Linked DNA regions of Homo sapiens: region 1 is linked to region 2. Evidence: promoter capture Hi-C in human tissues and cell types (Jung and others, 2019). All regions are on one chromosome and are shown on one strand. Each heading gives the region's core, a stretch centred on a gene start or on the middle of the fragment in contact. The rest is flanking DNA. Distances are from core to core; before and after follow the strand shown. Region 1 overlaps RSRC1 (arginine and serine rich coiled-coil 1). Region 2 holds the start of MLF1 (myeloid leukemia factor 1).

Region 1 (2,773 bases), core at 207-2,706, 450 kb after region 2:
AAAAGAAAAATGTTTTATCTAGCAAAATTAAAAATACAAAAACATGAATTTTAAAGAATGTTATCCTCATTACTATATAAATAAAAATTACAAAAATCACCTTCTATCATAAGAATGTGAACGAGGCTGAAGATCTCTGGACCAAGATCTTGACTTTGATCTTGATTTCCTTCCTCCTTTCTTTCGGCTGTATGTTCTACTATCTGAAGAACTGCTCGAGGAGGACCGTCTACGGTGTTTCTTTTTTCTCTTGCTTCTGCTTTCTTCTTCAGTATCTGATGACCGACGTCCCATTTCTATAAGCATAAATTTGAAGAATATTATTTCTAACATGGTGGCACAATGGATGAAATGCAATATATTAATTTTTTATTTCATTTATTTATTTATTTTAGAGATGGGGTCTCCCTCTGTATCCCAGGCTGGAGTGTAGTGGTACAATCATTGCTCACTGCAACCTGGAAGTCCTGGGCTCCAGCGATCCTTCCCCCAAGCCTTCCAAAGTGCTGGGACTACAGGCATGAGCCACCATTTCTGGCCTCAATGTACTACTTTTTATAAAACTTTGTAAAATTTTTAAAAGTCTTATTCAAAGTAAAATTGTTTATGTGCCTGGCTTCTTGACAAGACTGAGAGCAGTTCTTTATATCAATTATCTGATATTTTAAGTTATATTTCTCATTAATTATATGACATTTTCTTTAGTAATCAACCAACTATTCCTTTATTCTCACATTCCCTAATGACAAAATATATTTTACTATCTTAGAGTTGAATTTTTTTTCTAACAGAAAATTCTACATCTTTAAATAGCTAAAACCTCATTAGTCATCAACAAAGTACAAACTGAAACAATGAACTATAATCATCATTTCACTTGTGAAACTCAGGGGAGACAATATTAACTAAAGTACTAAAGTTGATGAGGTTATTGAGAAATCAGTCAGCTCTTCACACACTGCTAGTATCTCTATAAGGTGGTAGAATAATCTTTTTAGAAAGCAATAAAACAATAAATTAAGCAGATATAATAGATATTATATCTATAACAGACATCCACATTTGTATGTGTATATTACACACAAACATATATATTTATATCCACATTAAGAAATATGTACACAATTGAGTAATAATAATCTAAAAATGTTGATGCTTTTTTGACAGAGAAATCCTACTTCTACAAATACATCTGAAAAAATTTTTCTAAAGGATATATTCATGAAAATATTCATCACAGCATTATTATAGTGGTATCCATTGAGATAATTTAAGAAAATATGTACATATGAAAATTAGTATTTAAATGATGCAATATAATTTTCATAATATAAAATATAGTTTTTCAAACTATTTCTATATAGTTATGGTAACACGGACATTTAGTATACAACAGAAAAAACAAATAGAACCTAAGGCTTTCATATTTAGGAATTAACTTTGCTGACAAGAAGCTTAGTTGTCTTACTTTAATTTAGATTCTCATATGCAATACTATTTTTTATTAAAATAGTTATTAGTTATCTTTCAAAGTCATATAAAAACAAGATCCATTCGTTGTAATCACTTAGGATAAATAAAAGCTCACATCATCTTTAATATTTATTCAAAATAAGTTAAATACCGTCACTATAAACAAAGTATTATGTTGGTGCAAAAGTAATTGCAGTTTTTACCATGACTTTTAATGGAATATATTTATATATATATAAAATATATATTATCTATTTAATATATTAAATATATATTATGTATAGTATGTTTAACATTAAATATATTATATATTAAATATTAACTATATAATACTTAATATTAACTGTATATTTAATATATTAATATTAATATATTAATTCTATATTATTTATATATTTAATAATTAATACATTCCATTAAAAGTAATGGCAAAAACCACAATTACTTTTGTGCCAACTTATAATATGTTAAATTACTGCTTTGCTTTCAGAAGCATCAGGTGAGCCAGCCCCTCCCTGATTCCAATACAATACCAGTTGAAAAAATCTCTTAGGACTCAAATCAAAACTTTAAGCTATTTACCTAGAGCCAGAATTAAGGATTTTAAATGTAGCTCTGAACGTCCAAGTTGCTCACATGTCTAAGATTTTAGTTTAACAAAACACTGGGAAGACTTGGTTTTGAAGATTTCAGTAAATCACTTACATATCTAAGCCAGTTTCCTCATTTAAAAAATGAAACTACAATAGGTAAAAGATTACCACGACACTTTCCAGCTTTAAAATGACTATGAAAGTGGCCAGGTGCAGTGGCTCACGCCTGTAATCCCAGCACTTTGGGAGGCCGAGGCGGGCGGATCCTGAGGTCAGGAGTTCGAGACCAGCCTGATCAACATGGTGAAACCCCATCTCTACTAAAAACACAAAAAGTAGCTGGGCGTGGTGGCATGCGCCTGTAGTCTCAGCTACTCAGTAGTCTGAGACAGGAGAATCGCTTGAACCTGGGAGGCGGAGGTTGCAGTGAGCCGAGATAGTGCCATTGCACTCCAGCCTGGGTGACAGAGCGAGACTCTATCTCAAAAAAAAAAAAAAAAGACTATGAAATTATAAATATATACAACATGTATATATATGTAAATACAAACATACATTTAAATACAAACATAATTCAGATGTATATAAGGTATATCTGTACATACATATAAATTCACATGTGTCCATATCCATTTATACATAAAATATATACATATATCCATTATATATATCAAATAGATACCCACATATGTATGTGTGTATATTAT
Region 2 (2,937 bases), core at 201-2,700:
CCTCGTCCCACTACCTCTCACCCTCAAACCTCTTCCCCCTACCTCACGCCCTCAACCCTCCTCCCACATCATGCTCTCAAGCCCTTCCCACCAACTCACGCCCTCAACCCTTCTCCCCAACCCTCCTCCCACACCTCATGCCCCCAAATCCTCCTCAGCCCCTAAATCCTCCTCCATCCACCTCACACCCTCAACCCTCTTACCGCCACCTCACGCTCCCAAACCATCCCCACCAACTCATGCCCTCAATCCTCCCCTGCACTTCATACTCCCAAACCCTCCCCACCAACTCACGCCCTCAACCCTCGTCCCTGCACTTCAAGCTCTTAACTCTCCCCTGCACCTCATGCTCCCAAACCGTCCCCCCACCTCACGCCCTCAACCCTCCTCCCCCCACCTCGCGGTCCAAAACCCTCCTTCCCCTCACCTCACACCCTCAACCCTCCCCCACACCTCATGCTCCCAAATCCTCCTCCCACCTCACGTCCTCAACCCTCCTCCTACACCTCACACCTTCAACTCTCCCCCACACCTCATGCTCCCAAACCCTCCCCCCACCTCACGCCCTCAACCCTCCTCCAAACGCCTCACACCCCCAAATCCTCCTTCGTCCATCTCACACCCTCAACCCTCCCCCCTCCACCTTACTCCCCCAAACCCTCCTCCTCCCACCCCACGCTCCCAAACCCTCCCCCCACCTCACAGCCTCAACCCTCCTCCCCCCACCTCACGCTTTCAAACCCTTCCCCCACCTCACGCCCTCAACCCTTCCCCTCACCTCACGCCCTCAACCCTTCCCCTCACCTCACGCCCTCAACCCTTCCCCTCACCTCACACCCTCAACCCTTCCCCTCACCTCACGCCCTCAACCCTCCTCCCTCCCACCTCATGCTCCCAAACCCTTCCCTCACCTCACGCCCTCAACCTCTTCTCCCCACCTCATGCCCTCAATTCTCCTCCCCCCACCTCCCGGCCTCAACTCTTCTCCCCCCACTCCCAGCCTTAACTCTCCTCCCCACACCTCACGCCCCCAAACTTCCCTCCGCCTACCTCACGCGTCCAAACCCTCCTCTCTCCACCTCATGCGCCCAAATCCGTCTCTTCCCTGTCTCACACACCCCTAAATCCTCCTCTCTCTTCCCTCCCAGGCCTCCAAATCCTCGTCTCCTTCAAACCGCCTCCAGAGTTACTCCGAATTCTCTCTCGCCCTCTAAAACTCGCTCTTTTCCCTTAAAATAGCTCCCCTCGATACCTTAATTCCCGCGCGACCCCGGACTCCTGGCTCCCGTAACTCACGAGAAGAAGGGGTCATCCTCAAAACTGCTGTTCAGCATCCTGAACATTCTGGCTCTGTCTTGGGTGGCGGCAGCCGCGGACAGATTGGAAAAACGATGTTAACTCGCCGCGGCCGCGACAAGAGCTAGCCTCCAGTACGGACGACGCCTCACTCGCCGCGGCGCAGGCGGTGCCCGCCGGGATAGGAGGTGCGTGACACCGAGCTGCTTTCCCATTGGACATTGCTCTGTGACGTCACCAGGACGAGGCGGGGAGCAATGCGCCGCTGCCCTGGCAACCGCAATCAACACAGTGGAGGCGAGAAGTCTGGCCTTGCGCCGGCCGGGGAGCTTTTCGCCAAGGCTCCTGTGGGATGGGATAGCTTGTTCTCTGGGCTGCAGGAACCAAAACATTAGACCACCCTTTCTGTGACCTTGGGCATGCCGCCCTCGGTTCCGAGCCGCAAGTCTTTCTTTCGGGGAAAATGAAAAGGGGTCAAGATTTGGACCAGATGACACCCAATGTCCCATTCAACGGTCGCATTCTGTCATCCACAGGAATTAGTCCTGTATCCGAAACATTCTCTGGTAGTCAAAAGCTGTGAGCAAATAATAAGAAAAAATGTGCAAAACGTTTTTTAGTACAGTTAGCAAATAGTGTACTCAGTTGTTGAAGGAAATGGGATGAAGCCTATCAGATTTCAACAAACTTATTTACCTCTTGAGAAAGCTGCTCTCTTTTCGGTTGTCCTTCTGTGTCTCTCTTTCAAAGATCAAGTCTCACTGCGATGCTGATATGTTTTTAACACTTCTCCAGCATTTCTTAACCTAACAGCAGGTTTCAGGCACAGGCCTGCAGCAAGCAGCCATATCCAACTAAAATTCCACTACTATATGTTTTTATTTGCATTACATTTATCAGGGAGCTTTCTATTTATGGCAAGGAAACTGATTTTAAATTTAAATCAGTGATATACATCAAGAGCTAGATTTTGCATTTTTAAGTGAAAAAGTAAGCTATCAAATAGAACAGGTGGAATTTGGATATGGTGGGGCGGAGGGGTAGGCAGAGCAGGGGAGAGGAACATCGTGATAGTGGTACTCAAATTACTAAGTTTTAGAAAACACTATCACGGGGCCTTTCAGGAGCCTGGAGACAGATGGAGGGGAAGACAGAAGAGAGATTAAGGAGAAGAATGGTAAGAGTATAAGAAAAGAGAAAATACATCTTGCATGTCCACCCTTAATTCAGTGAGCTCCCCAGCTTCTCTACGTGGCTGTCTTGCAGAGATAAAGGGGCGTCCATAGCTCATCAGGGCCCCCTGGGATCAGGCCAGAGGGGTGGCACTTTGCCAGCATGAAGAAGTGTGCAAGCCCTGATTTGGAGGTGACAGGAGTAGTCAGGGGTTATTTTGAGAGCTGGAAATTTAATCGTTTGGATCTTTTACTCCCCATCCCCCTTTTTTAGCCAAGTTCTCTGGCAGCTTCCTTCCCCTGAGACTGGTGGCATGGGGTAGGGCAGACTTCACAGCCCAAGATGAGATGGCACAGCCCATCCAGGAAAGAGGATATTTTCTTTTCCTCTGGACTCAGAATAAAGCTCAGAGAACATATACACAAAATTTCGAAAATTTCTAAATAAATTTCAAGGCAAACAAAATTG

Evidence for each region. Contacts are between HindIII fragments. The study calls those that stand out against the background at their distance.
Region 1: a fragment that was not itself captured here is called in contact with the fragment with the promoter of MLF1 in region 2 in 1 of the 25 tissues and cell types used here (heart left ventricle).

The regions. Positions count from the first base shown.
Region 1 is chr3:158,119,626-158,122,398 of GRCh38, reverse strand. RSRC1 (arginine and serine rich coiled-coil 1) reads right to left here. Exons shown (of 10, transcript NM_001271838.2): 2 at 101-296. The coding sequence starts at 294. Among named protein-coding and RNA genes, the nearest start is that of RSRC1, 11 kb to the right of the region's middle. The HindIII fragment of the contact is 8,881 bases long and covers 1-2,773 here.
Region 2 is chr3:158,569,707-158,572,643 of GRCh38, reverse strand. MLF1 (myeloid leukemia factor 1) reads right to left here and starts at 1,450. Exons shown (of 8, transcript NM_001369783.1): 1 at 1,297-1,450. The coding sequence starts at 1,343. MLF1-DT (MLF1 divergent transcript) reads left to right here and starts at 1,578. Exons shown (of 5, transcript NR_104147.1): 1 at 1,578-2,473. The HindIII fragment of the contact is 8,231 bases long and covers 1-2,937 here.